3 separate regions of the Homo sapiens genome follow, and all the other regions are linked to region 1. The links are contacts of gene promoters, found by promoter capture Hi-C in human tissues and cell types (Jung and others, 2019). All regions are on one chromosome and are shown on one strand. The core of a region is centred on a gene start or on the middle of the fragment in contact, and the rest is flanking DNA. Distances in the headings are between cores, read along the strand shown. Region 1 holds the start of RGMA (repulsive guidance molecule BMP co-receptor a). Region 2 overlaps MCTP2 (multiple C2 and transmembrane domain containing 2). Region 3 has its middle 45 kb from the start of MCTP2.

Region 1 (4,029 bases), core at 818-3,317:
TTTCTAGATTGTTGGTTGAAAGCATGTCCATTTCTTAATTTGCACCCTAAACACACTTCACGGCTTCATTTAAATCTGAGCACTCTGTGTATTCCAACTGCCTATGCAGGGTTCTAACTTAACCAAGTACTTAACGAGTAGCATTAATATTCGTTGTCTTCTCCACGGGTGCCTGCACTCATCAAGGTAAATAGTTACCGGCTACCTCCACGGCCCTTGATTGAGCTGAGAATTGTCTGTCCTTATCTAGACAGTGGATTGTTTGTCCCCCACCATGGGAAAACCCTGCTGGTTACTTTCCAAAGGCCTCATTTTAAAAAGACACGTTTCCACTTACAGACCTTTTAAAAATGCCAGGCAATTTGGAAGAACAGTAAGAAATCTACTATCTGCGTGACAGTCATTCAGAGATTCTTGTAGTGTGCCAGGCACCATATTAAGTGCTAGGAATGCAATGATGACTCCAAGGAGTCCTGGTTCCTGCCCTCATGATGCTTATGGTACGGTGGGAGAGGCCAACATGTAGGGAAAGGTCACTCTAATGAGCGCCTAATTACCGAGTGAGCTCAGTGTTAGGAAGGAAAGGCACGGATGTGAGGACTCCCTAGAGGGTGGGGAAGATGTTGGAGCTGAGCTATGAAAGATGAAGAAATTGGTTATTCACTGAATGTCAGGGCACAGAATGTCAGGGCAGGAAGACCACACACACACACACACACACACACACACACACACACACACACACCCTACTATTCATAGATGAGGAAACTGAGGCCCAGCAGAGCTAGATGACTTGCCGAAGGTCAGAGCTAATTCTAGAAACCCATCCCCAATCCCTTCCTGCTAAACCACTTAATTTTATTTATATCCCAGCTATAGATTATACAAATACACTTGACAAATAAAACGGAGAATATTGAGTTAAAACCACATCTCTGAAGACCACACGCATAAATAACGATCGTGTTTTAATGCGGACGATACCTTTTCATTTTGCAAATCCAGAGTTCTCATCATATCAAAATTCAAGACAGTTTGTTCTGTAAGAAGGGGAAGGTCATAACCCTGTCTAGAATGTACTGGCAAATCTCTCTAACCGTGCAGTGCTAATTTGGGCCTGAGCTGTGTAACCAGACCGACTTCACGCTCCAGCTGGGGTTTCAGATCCACACATGGCGATTGGGTGGCTCTTTGCTGTTTCACAGCAAGGGTCCTTCCCTGGGCTCCCGGAGCCTCTGGGGATTTACTGCTCCCGACGTGGCCGTGTTCAAGCCACTGTGTGCATGCGCTTAATGTTGAAAACATTCTTTTGAAAAGCCCAGGAGATTCCACTCGCAATCTGTGCGTGTGCATGTAAAAGCGCAGAGACTGGAAAGAACCGCGGCAGAGCACACCCTGACCGAAGGTTACCGCGGGGGAGCCGCGGCCGTGGGAGAGCCGCGGCCGTGGGAGGGAGTGCGATACGGTCTTTTCACTCTAGACACTCCTGAGTTATGTACAATTCTACGCAAGAATGTATGCGTGTGTTAGCATGTAATACATATGTATTAGTTTTTTCAGGAAGATTCTTAAACAACAACAAAATCTCTATAGAACAAAGGTGCGTCTCCGCAGAGCGCAACAGCATTTGTCTTGGATGTAACCGCCTTCTCCAGAAATCTCAGAGGAACTCCCCTCGACCACCGCCTAACTGAAGGACACCGTGCGCTCCACCGCAACCCTGCGGGCGATTCGGAAAGTTGGAGGCGCCCCGGGGAGTCGCCGCACTTGCCGCCCGCGCCCCCTAACCTGAGCATTCAAGGAGTCTTGACTTGGCCGCTGGCGCACTCCGCACCCACCCAGCCGGTGCTGATGCGGGAGGGTGGGGCCGCGGCGGGGCGGGGCAACGCGAGCCCGCACCCCGCTCCTCCCCGCCCCTCCCTGCCGGCCCCGCCCGCGCGCGCCCCCCGCCCGCGGCCCGGGCGCCCGGCCCGCCCCCTCCCCTCGGCGCGCAAACGAACCTCGCGACGCCGCGCTCGGCGGCGGGCGGGGGCCGGGCGAGGGAGGGGGCTGGTCCCGGCCGCCCCACTCTGCAGTTGTCTCCCGAGCGCTGGCTGCGCCGCCCGAGCCGCTGGGCCGGGGAAGCACTGGCCGTTCGCTCCCGGGCCGGCTCCGCCAGGCGCTCGCAGGCATGCAGCCCGGGAGCAGGAGGCGCTCCCCGGGCCGCTGCTGAGCCGGCCGGGGCGGCGGGGACCAGCGCCAGCGGAGCCCCTCCCACCTTGCCCCGGGGCAGACGAGCGGCGCCCCGACACCCCCTCTTCTCCCGCAGCCCCGCCAGCGCCACCCCCCGCGGGCCGCAGGGGCTCATGCAGCCGCCAAGGTAAGCGCGGGTCGGGAGCCGGGCAGACCCGGCTCTGACATCTCCGAGGCGCCGCCGACACATGCCGGGGCCACGGCGCTGCTTTGGTCTTCCTTAGCCCCGCGTCTCATCTTGCTCCCATCTTGCCCACATTTGGAGCTTTGCTGCGCCTCTATCGCTTTAGCTGTTGGCAGCAGGAAAGTTTTTGTGGTTTGGTGTTTGTTCTTTTTTCCTAAAATACTCTCCCCCGGGCAGCCGCCAGCGCGCGTGGTTGGGCAGACCCGGCACACGTCCCTTACACCGTGTGCGGGCTGGGAGCTCCTTCCCTCAGCCCGGCTCGCGGAGCCCCGGACGGAGCCGGCCACCCGACTGTCCCGCCGTGAACCCCCATTGGCCCGCGCCGCCCGGGCCCCCGCCTCCCGCTCGACGCCCGGCTGCGGAGCTGCCTGGCCATCTCCTGCCCTCGGGGATGTCGGCGCAGTGCACCGCGTGGGCTCGCGTCCCGGCGGCCCTTTGCCTCGGCGCGCCGGCGTACGGGAAGGTGCGGACCTTGGATTGAGGGCCGAGGATGCCCATTGCCAAGCCGCCCCGGCTTTCCTAAGTGGACGGGAGGGCACGGCGACGATTCAGCGCCGGCTCGCGCCGCAGCTCAACCCAGGGTACAAGCCCGGGCATGGGGGACAGGTGTATTCAATGGGAGGGCGGGTGTGGGGGACGCTCGGGTGCAATTCGGGATTGCGTCTTATTAATGTAATTGTATTAGACTTGCTCGGAGGTAGAATCAGTTCTCCCAAATTGAGATTTCTAATGGGAGCCTGTGAGCTGCTATTATGTGGTGTGGTTTTGGGAGGTGTTGGGTTGTATTTATTTTATAAATTGGGTGTCTCGCGGGCGGAGTAGGGGAAGTAGCGCCATCTAGCGGAAGTGGTGAGCTGTGCATTCCTCTTAGGCTGCGAAGTTGTTGGGTGTTCTCAAAGTAGTCTCCCGCACAAGGTGGAGAGGCGGGAACCAGCCCTCGCCTCCAGGAAGGAGGCTACAGAAGCTCTCTGAGTATCGACGGTACCAGGGAGAACCCCGACCTCCCATGCTCAGCACATTGAGCTCAGGGGACGAAATTGCGGGTCGTGTTGAGTGGCATGCTGTCACCTAAAGGAGCTCCATCACCTTCTCTGTTTGGTTTTAGACTCTTCCAGCAAAAACGTAATATAAAATGTTAACTGCTGTAAGAAGATGCCCCTTCCGCAGGTATCTGGTGCAGAGATCTTGAAAACCAATGCACAAACCTCTGTCTTCTCCTGTGCATCACAAACGGGTGATTTCTTGGGTGGATTTTGAGCCATGACCCCTAGAAAAGAGAGTAACTGTGCTCCGAAGGGCAACAGGAGGAGAACTGGGAGAGGGCCTCCTGCCCATTTGTGCAGGAACAGAATAGTGTACCCAAACTGGGTTTTGTGGTTTTTTTTTTTTTTTTTTTTGCACATACAAAGAAGGGGTTTCTTGCTGTTACCACAGCAAGTGACAAGCAAGCCCCCTTTACAGGGACATGATCTCCAATTAACAACTGGGGCAGACGTGGCTGGATGGCAAGTTCTGCAGACAAAGGCTCTGGGTGGGGCACCCACACATCCAGGCGGGCTCCACGTTCTCTGTGGCTGGTTTTTGCTGCCACCTTCCAGGCCAGATAATATATT
Region 2 (4,029 bases), core at 725-3,224, 1.2 Mb before region 1:
AAGACCCTGAGGTGTCCTGGTGGCAACTATACAACATTACCCCTTTCCCAACACCATTGCTAAACCTGCCCATTGTTCTGAAGCCAGACTTCCTTGTGAGTCTTTCTAAAGAACAATTAACAATGGTGTAGTTCAGCAATCTTCACCAAAACTCCCAGAAAAATCTCCAAATCCCACCTTGATAACCTGCTTAACATACCAGCTCTGTGTTTGAACCAGGGAAGGGAGTGATTTAGATAAAACCTCACAGCTCTTTATGCCAGTGAAGCCTATTTCCCAGCCTCTCGCTGACGGCATCACAGCAGAGACAGGGAACTCTGGTATCTGAGACCTTTTCTGCATGTGTTTCCTCGTGGGCAAAGTCACCAAAAACTTCCTATGCTCAATCACATACCCTCTAAGCACTTTCTAACATCCTTTCTTGGGGTTTGTGAGCTGTCTTTTCCTAAGGGAGACACCATATTCTTCCACTCCACTGCTGAGTTAAATAGCAAGAAAATGACTTTTTATTACCCAACATCTCCGGATTTTTCTGCATGATTTCATGTCGTATTTCCAAGATGCTTCCGCTGAAAGCATTAGCCTCAACTCTTGATGACTGCCTAATGAGATTATACCATCTTTGTTGTAGATGTTTTTAAAGCAGTTTTTCAAAGCAAGAATCCAAAAATCAGACCATGATATTCTAGGCAGAGGTCAACAAACTTTGGCCCATCAGTTAAATCCAGACCACTGCCTGTTTTTGTAAATAAATTTATATTGGAAAACAGCTATGTTCATTTGTTTATTGTCTATGGCTGCTTTCTCACTATGTCAAGAGTTAATTTTCACTTATAGCCCATAAAGCCATAAAAAGTCTACTAATCCATGTTCTAGACAGAAAGTAACAGACAGTAATGATTATGTAACAATCCGAAGAAAATGCAGAACTCCTTCCTTAGCAGAGAGTGATTCATCAAAATAGCTTTTCTCCCTAAAAAAAAAAAAATTCAAAAACAGGGGCTGTGCAATTGGAATTAAAGGCCCTAAAGCTGCTGCTCCTCCATGGTCAAGGTTGCAACACATTTGAATAACTCTGAAGGAGCCTCTGTCATAATAAAAAATATGTGATTAATTAGATCCGTGTTTTTTACTTAAAATTAAATACATGATTCCACATAGGAAAATAAAATACAGGTGACTCTTGAAAACATGCATTTGAACAACTGCAAGGGTTCACTTATACAGAATTTTTGTCCTCCTCTGCATCTCCTGAGACAGCAAGACCAAACCCTGGTCTTTCACCTCCTCCTCAGCCAATTGGATGTGAAGACAATGAGGGTGCAGGCTTTTATGATGATCCACTTTCACCTAACGAATAATAAATCTACTTTCTCTCTTTTATGATTTTCTTAACACTTCTTCTCTAGCTTACCTTATTATAAGAATACAGTATATAATACATATACAAAATATATGCCAACGGGCTGTTTATGTTATCAGTAAGGCTTCTGGTCAACAGTAGGCCACTAGTAGTTGTGTTTTGGGGAATTCAAAAGTTATATGTGGGTTTCTGACTGCATGAGGGGTTGGCACCCCTAACCTCCTGCATTGTTTATTGATTAGCTGTATTTTAAAAACCCTATGCTAAAGACAGATCATAGAGAGAGCACAGAGAAATTGGCAAACTGACACAAGTTAGGGACCAAGCATCTAATTCAATGACGGGGGAGCTGACATGGAACACAGCAATGAGTTCTGTACTGGGAGTCAAGAACATGGCCAACTTGCATTATGATTATTCATTAATTACTATAACAACATATCTATTGCCTATTTTCTAAATGTAGGCCACTATGGCATCTATACATCTTTATTAATAATAATAGTACATATTTATGGGGTACACGTAATATTTTGATACATGCATACAATGTGTAATGATCAAATCAGCCTAATTGAAATATGCATCACCTCAAACACATCATTTGTGTTGGGAATATTCCAAATCTTCTCTTCTATTTTGAAATATACAATAAATTATTATTAAGTATAGTCACCCTACTGAGCCATTGAACACTGTAACTTATTCTTTCTACTGTATTTTTGTACCCCTTAACCAACCCTTCTTCATTTTCCCCATTCCCACCCTTCCCAGCCTCTGGTAGTAAGCATTCTCCTCTCTGTCTCCACGGATCAACTTTCTAGCTCACACGTGAGTCAGAATATGGGATATTTGTCTTTTTGTGCCTGACTTATTTTACTTAACATTTTGTCCCCCAGCCTCATCCATATTGTTTTACTTTTTTCAGTCCTTACAATCACATTATGAGGCAAGGTACATCACACCCATTTTAGAGAGGTTATGTAAGTTGTACAAGGAGGTCACAAAGCCAAGTAGTAGACCAAATCCAAATCCTCTTCTTGTCCCACTGAGCCACCCAGTCTGCTCTGAATCTTGCCTCCCAACGTGACCCTCAATAAGTCATTCAATTTTTGTGCTTCCATTTCCTGAATTAAAGCTTCCATTAAATCAGCAGCTGGACCAGGTGACCTATATGAAAGTCATCTTCATCTCTGAAATCATATAAATCCTTTTTGCTGACTTTCATCACCAAGCCCCAGAAGAACACCAGTGTAGTGCCCATTTCACTGAGGAAACCCAAGACATGCTTGTTGAATAAGGGAGTAAGTGACTAAATACTGTTCATTCTGAAAAGGTACTTTCCCTTGTATAACAGGCCTCAATGCTCCTTAAGTCCAGCACTGAAGTTGGATTTCTTCAACGAAGAACTAAAATTTATTAAAAATATTCTGTGTATAAACCATCAGTTATAGCACAGGAGGGCATACAAAGATTAATAAACTAGGGCCAGGCGCAGTGGCTCACAGCTGTAATCCCAGCACTTTGGGAGGCCGAGGCGGGTGGATCACAAGGTCAGGAGATCGAGACCATCCTGGCTAACACGGTGAAACCCTGTCTCTACTAAAAATACAAAAATTAGCTGGGCGTGGTGGCGGGTGCCTGTAGTCCCAACTACTTGGGAGGCTGAGACAGGAGAATGGCGTGAACCCAGGAGGTGGAGCTTGCAGTGAGCCGAGTCTGTGCCACCGCACTCCAGCCTGGGCGACAGAGCGAGACTCCATCTCAAAAAAAAAAAAAAAAAAAGATTAATAAACTATTCTCCCTCCTAATACAGCACTAAGATTGTAATAGAGCAGATCAGTCATTTCCCCAATTAAGGATAAAGGTATATGTTTTATAAAGGTAAAATCTTATAAGATTGAGGTGAGACAGAGCTTATGCCTGTGAAAAACATAAAAGACTGCATAGGACAAATGCCATCTGAGTCTGTATTGAAAGATACTTCCTATTGCAACAATAAGCTATTGGTTTAGTATCTACAGAATTGGAGAACACGTTATAAAGACTAAATATTGTAAATGCATAGATAAGCCAAAAACATGTTATAGTTAGTACTTTAGCATATCACACAGTTTCTTAAACCTGTTTTAATTGGGTTAATACTAAATTAAATTATATTCCAATACAAATTAAGTAAAGCTGAGACCAATGACAGACAGCAAACAGGTAATGAGAAAAAGCCCCAGGAAAATACAATGTCTGGCTAACATAATCAAGAGTTGAAACTCTACCTCTAAGGAGAAGCATGGGTTTCTTCTCATGTGCCGACACCCACCTGTGACAGGGACTGCCTAGAGCAAAGGTTCTCCAAGTGTGGTTCCTGGGCCAGCAGCATCAGCCTTACCTGGGAACTTGTTAGAAACGCAAATTCCCAGGCCCCACCCCAGACACACTGAATCAGAGAGTCTGTGTGCGGGGCTCAGAGATGTGCATTTTCATTAGTTCCTAAGACTCTTCTGAGGCTCATTCAATTTTGAGAACTATTGGTCCAAAGGATTGTGTTAGATAAAACTTCTGAGTCTGGGTTGGGTTTTGTAGAAAATAATGCTGTATTGAAAAGTGACGCTGTACCTAGGCAAAGGAGGCAGGAGTGAGGGAGCACATGTATTAGTAATGAGGACCCC
Region 3 (4,029 bases), core at 813-3,312, 1.1 Mb before region 1:
AATTCATCAGAGCTATTGGCCTGTAGTTTTCTTTTTTTGATGTGTCTCTGGTTTTGGTATCAGGGTAATACTGGCCTCATAGAATAAGTTTGGAAGTATTCCCTTCTCCCCTATTTTTCCAAAAAGTTTGAGTAGGATTGGTATTTGTTCTTTAAATGTCTGTTAGAATTCAGCATGGAAGTCATCAGGTCCCAGGTTTTTCTTTACTGGGAGACTTTTTATTATGGCTCCAATCTCAGTACTCATTATTGATTTGTTCAGGTTTTAGATTTCTTCATGGTTTAATTTTGGTAGTTTGTATGTTTCTGGGAATTTTTAAATTTCTTCTAGGTTTTCCAATTTATTGGCATGTAGTTCTTCACAGTAGCCATTAATAATCCTTTTAATTTCTGTAGTATCTGTTGTAATGTCTTCTTTTTCATTTCTGATTTTATTGATTTAGACCTCCTCTCTTTATTTCTTAGTTAGTCTGGCTAAAGATTTGTCCACTGTGTTTAACTTTTCAAAAACATTTTTTTGTTTTATTGATTTTTTATATTTTTTAATTTCAATTTTATTTATTTCTGATCTGATACTTATTGCTTCTTTTCTTTCCCTAATTTTGAATTTACTTTGTTCTTGCTTTTCTAGTTTTGTTTGTTTGTTTGTTTGTTTTTACTTTAAGTTCTGGGATACATGTGTAGACTGTGCAGGTTTATTACCTAGATATGCATGTGCCATGGTGGTTTGCTGCACCTATCAACCCATCATCTAGGTTTTAAGCCCCACATGCATTAGGTATTTGTCCCAATGCTCTTTCTCCCTTTGACCCCCATCCTCTGACAGGCCCTGGTGAGTGGTGTTCCCCTCCCTGTGTCCATATACTTTGCCTACTTTTTGATGGGGTTGTTTTTTTCTTGTAAATTTAAATTCCTTGTAGATTCTGGATATTAGACCTTTGTCAGATGGGTAGATTGCAAACATGTTCAGTGCCCTATCCTGCTGTGACTGAGCTGGTATCCTAGATGCAAGACAAAGTCCTCCCCAGGAGGTCTCTTTTGGAGCCATGAACTGTGTAGTCTGGGACTAGGGGAGGGATGATGACAGCACTCCCTTAGCTGCCCCAGGCAGCATCTCAGTAGGTCACATGCTCCGCCTCCACAGTCCACTGTCTCTGGGCCTATTTCAGCCCTAGGGCTTGCCTAAGAGTTTCAGTCCTTATGGCCTAGACTGCCTTTCAAGTTTGCTTGGAGACACAAAATGCTGTAGCCCTTAGTGGCTAGGTTTGCAGGCACTCAAGTTCGAACCACTAGGGGATTCCCTTCTGGCTATGAGTGTGGTAAATGCTTCTCCATGGGCGAGCATCAGCTGAGTTTGGTCTGGTTTTTCTTTCTGCTCTAACAGGACAACACTGAGTTCAATTCCTCACAATTTCTGTTAGGAAGCAGGCCACACCACAGGAGGTGAGCTGCGGGCAAGAGAGTGAAGCTTCATCTCTATTTACAACTGTTCCTCATTGCTTGCATTACCACCTGAGCTTTGCCTCCTATCAGATCAGCGGTGGCATTAGTTTCTCATAGGAGCACAAACCCTATCGTAAACAGTGTGTGTGAGGGATCTAGACTGTGTGCTCCTTATGATAATCTAATCCCTGATGATCTGAGGTAGAGCTGAGGTGGTAATGCTAGTGCTGGGGAGCAGCTGCAAATAATAAATGCACAGAGACCATAATAAATCAACTGCTTGCAGATTCATATCAAAACCCTATCAGCAAGTGGCAAGTGACAATTAAGCTGCTTCCAGTGGCAGGCTTTATAGCAGCAAGTGAGTTAACGTACTTCCATTGTATGGCTACGTCTGGTGGCAGGCCTTAAATCAGAATCCAGCACTTATTTTAGTCCATATGTGGTCCGTAGAATATTTACCACTTTCGTCTGTGCCTCTTTTCCTCACTGCACACTTACCTCAGTTACAGTTTTGGTAACCCCACAAGCTAACCCTAGGCAAAATGAGTAAAAAGCAAATATCACCAGAGAGCTTCTTTGAAAAGGGGGAAAGATCTAATGGTGAGACTCTGAGACCGCCAACAAAAAGAAAGCTGCGTTTAAAACAAAATACCAAGAGTCCTATTTAGAGTACAGGTTCATTGCAACAGGTGATTCACATTCTTCAAGAACGCTTTGTATAATATGTGGTAACTAGCCATCCGACAAAGCCATAAAACCTGCAAAACTGCTTCACCACATGGAGACTAAGCACCCTGCATTAAAAGACAAGCCTTTGGAGTTTTTTTTTTTTTTTTTTTTAAATGTGAACAGGAAGAACAGATGCAATTATTGAAGGCCACCACTTCATCAAATGTGTCTGCATTGAGAGCAACATTCTTAGTGGCTAATCTCATTGCTAACGCTAAGAAGCCCTTTACTATTGGTGAAGAGTTGATCCTGCCTGCTGCTAAGGACATTCGTCATGAAATTTTAGGAGAGGCTGTAGTTCAAAAGGGGACACGTGTTCCTCTTTTGGCTGGCACTGTAACTAGATAAAGTAATGAAATAGCAGAGGATATTGAGACACAATTGTTAGAGAGAATTAATGAATCACCATGATACACAATCCAGGTTGACAGGTCTACCGATGTTGACAAAAAGGCAAAAATGATTGTTTTTGTGTTATACATTTTCAGGTGGATGTGCATGAGGATATGTTATGCGCACTTTTGTTGCAGACAAACACCTGCAGAACTATTCAAGTCTTTGAATGATTACATATCAGGAAAACTGAATTGATCATTTTGTATCAGTACATGCATGGATGGAGTGGCTGCCATGACTGGACAGCTTTCTGGTTTCACTACTTGGGTCAGAGAGGTCACTTCTGAATGTGAATCTATGCACTGTGTCAGCCATACAGAAATGCTGGCTAGCTGAAAAATGTCACCTGAACTTAAAAATGTTTTGCAGGATGTGATTAAAATTATCAACCACATTAAAGTACATGCCCTTAACTCACATATGTTCACACAACTCTGTGAGGAGATGGACGCAGAGCACACACAGGTCTTATGCACAGACGTGAGATGGCTTTCTAAAGGTAGATCACTGGCCAGTTTTTGAATTATGAAAGCCACTCCAGAGATTTCTTTCAGAAAAACAGTTACCACTGGCAGCACGTTTCAGCGACACAGAATAAGTCTCAAAACTTGCTTCCTTGGGTGATATATTATTCAACATGCTACACAAACTCAATCTGTCACTTCAGGGGAGAATGACAACTGTGTTCATTTCAGTAGATAAAGTGGCTGCATTCAAAGTCAAACTGGAATTATGGGCAATGAGTGAACACTGGGATTTCTGACATGTTTTAAACACTTGCCCAGATTTTGAAAGTGATGGAGGCAGGGCCTTCTTACACCAGGTGGTGCATGATCACCTAGCTCAGCTTTCAAAGGAGTTTGAGCATTGCTTCCCACCACAAAAGACCCCCAAACTGGGAAGGAATGGATCCGTGACCCATCTGTGAATAAGCCAGGCGAACTGATGGTGTCCATGCTAGAAGAGGATCAACTGTTTGACACTGCAAATGACGATAGCCTTAAAAGTATGCTTGAGACTACAAATCTCCATACGTTCTGGATTAAAGTCAAAGTGAAATATCCAGAGATTGCCACAAAAGCACTGAAAAGCCTGCTTCCATTTCCAGCATCCTGTCTTTGTGAAGCAGGGTTTTCTGTAGTGACAGCAACCAAAACAAGATTACTGAGTAGACTGGACATAAGCAAAACACTTCAGATGTCACTGTCTTCGATCATACCCAGAGGAGATCATCTAGTTGCAGGAAGACAAGCTCAGGACTCCCACTGGTTCTGTTATGGTTACATAACAATTATTTCATTATATATTACAATGTAATAATAATAGAAATAAAGTGCACAATAAATGGAACGCTCTTGAATTTTGAATCATCCCCAAACCATCCCCTACCCTCAGTCCAGGGAAAAATTGTCTTCCACGAACTCAGTCCTTAATGCAAAAAAGGTGGGAGGCTGCTGCA

What was found. Contacts are between HindIII fragments. The study calls those that stand out against the background at their distance.
Region 2: a fragment that was not itself captured here is called in contact with the fragment with the promoter of RGMA in region 1 in 1 of the 25 tissues and cell types used here (lymphoblastoid cells).
Region 3: a fragment that was not itself captured here is called in contact with the fragment with the promoter of RGMA in region 1 in 1 of the 25 tissues and cell types used here (lymphoblastoid cells).

What each region holds. Positions count from the first base shown.
Region 1 is chr15:93,087,249-93,091,277 of GRCh38, reverse strand. It overlaps RGMA (repulsive guidance molecule BMP co-receptor a), which reads left to right and starts at 2,067. Exons shown (of 4, transcript NM_020211.3): 1 at 2,067-2,359. The coding sequence starts at 2,346. LOC101927025 (a long non-coding RNA gene) reads right to left here and starts at 2,064. Exons shown (of 5, transcript XR_007064769.1): 1 at 2,001-2,064. The HindIII fragment of the contact is 13,871 bases long and covers 1-4,029 here.
Region 2 is chr15:94,319,261-94,323,289 of GRCh38, reverse strand. The region is part of intron 4 of MCTP2 (multiple C2 and transmembrane domain containing 2); the gene reads right to left. Among named protein-coding and RNA genes, the nearest start is that of MCTP2, 90 kb to the right of the region's middle. The HindIII fragment of the contact is 4,413 bases long and covers 1-4,029 here.
Region 3 is chr15:94,184,234-94,188,262 of GRCh38, reverse strand. No RefSeq gene overlaps it. Among named protein-coding and RNA genes, the nearest start is that of MCTP2, 45 kb to the left of the region's middle. The HindIII fragment of the contact is 4,058 bases long and covers 34-4,029 here.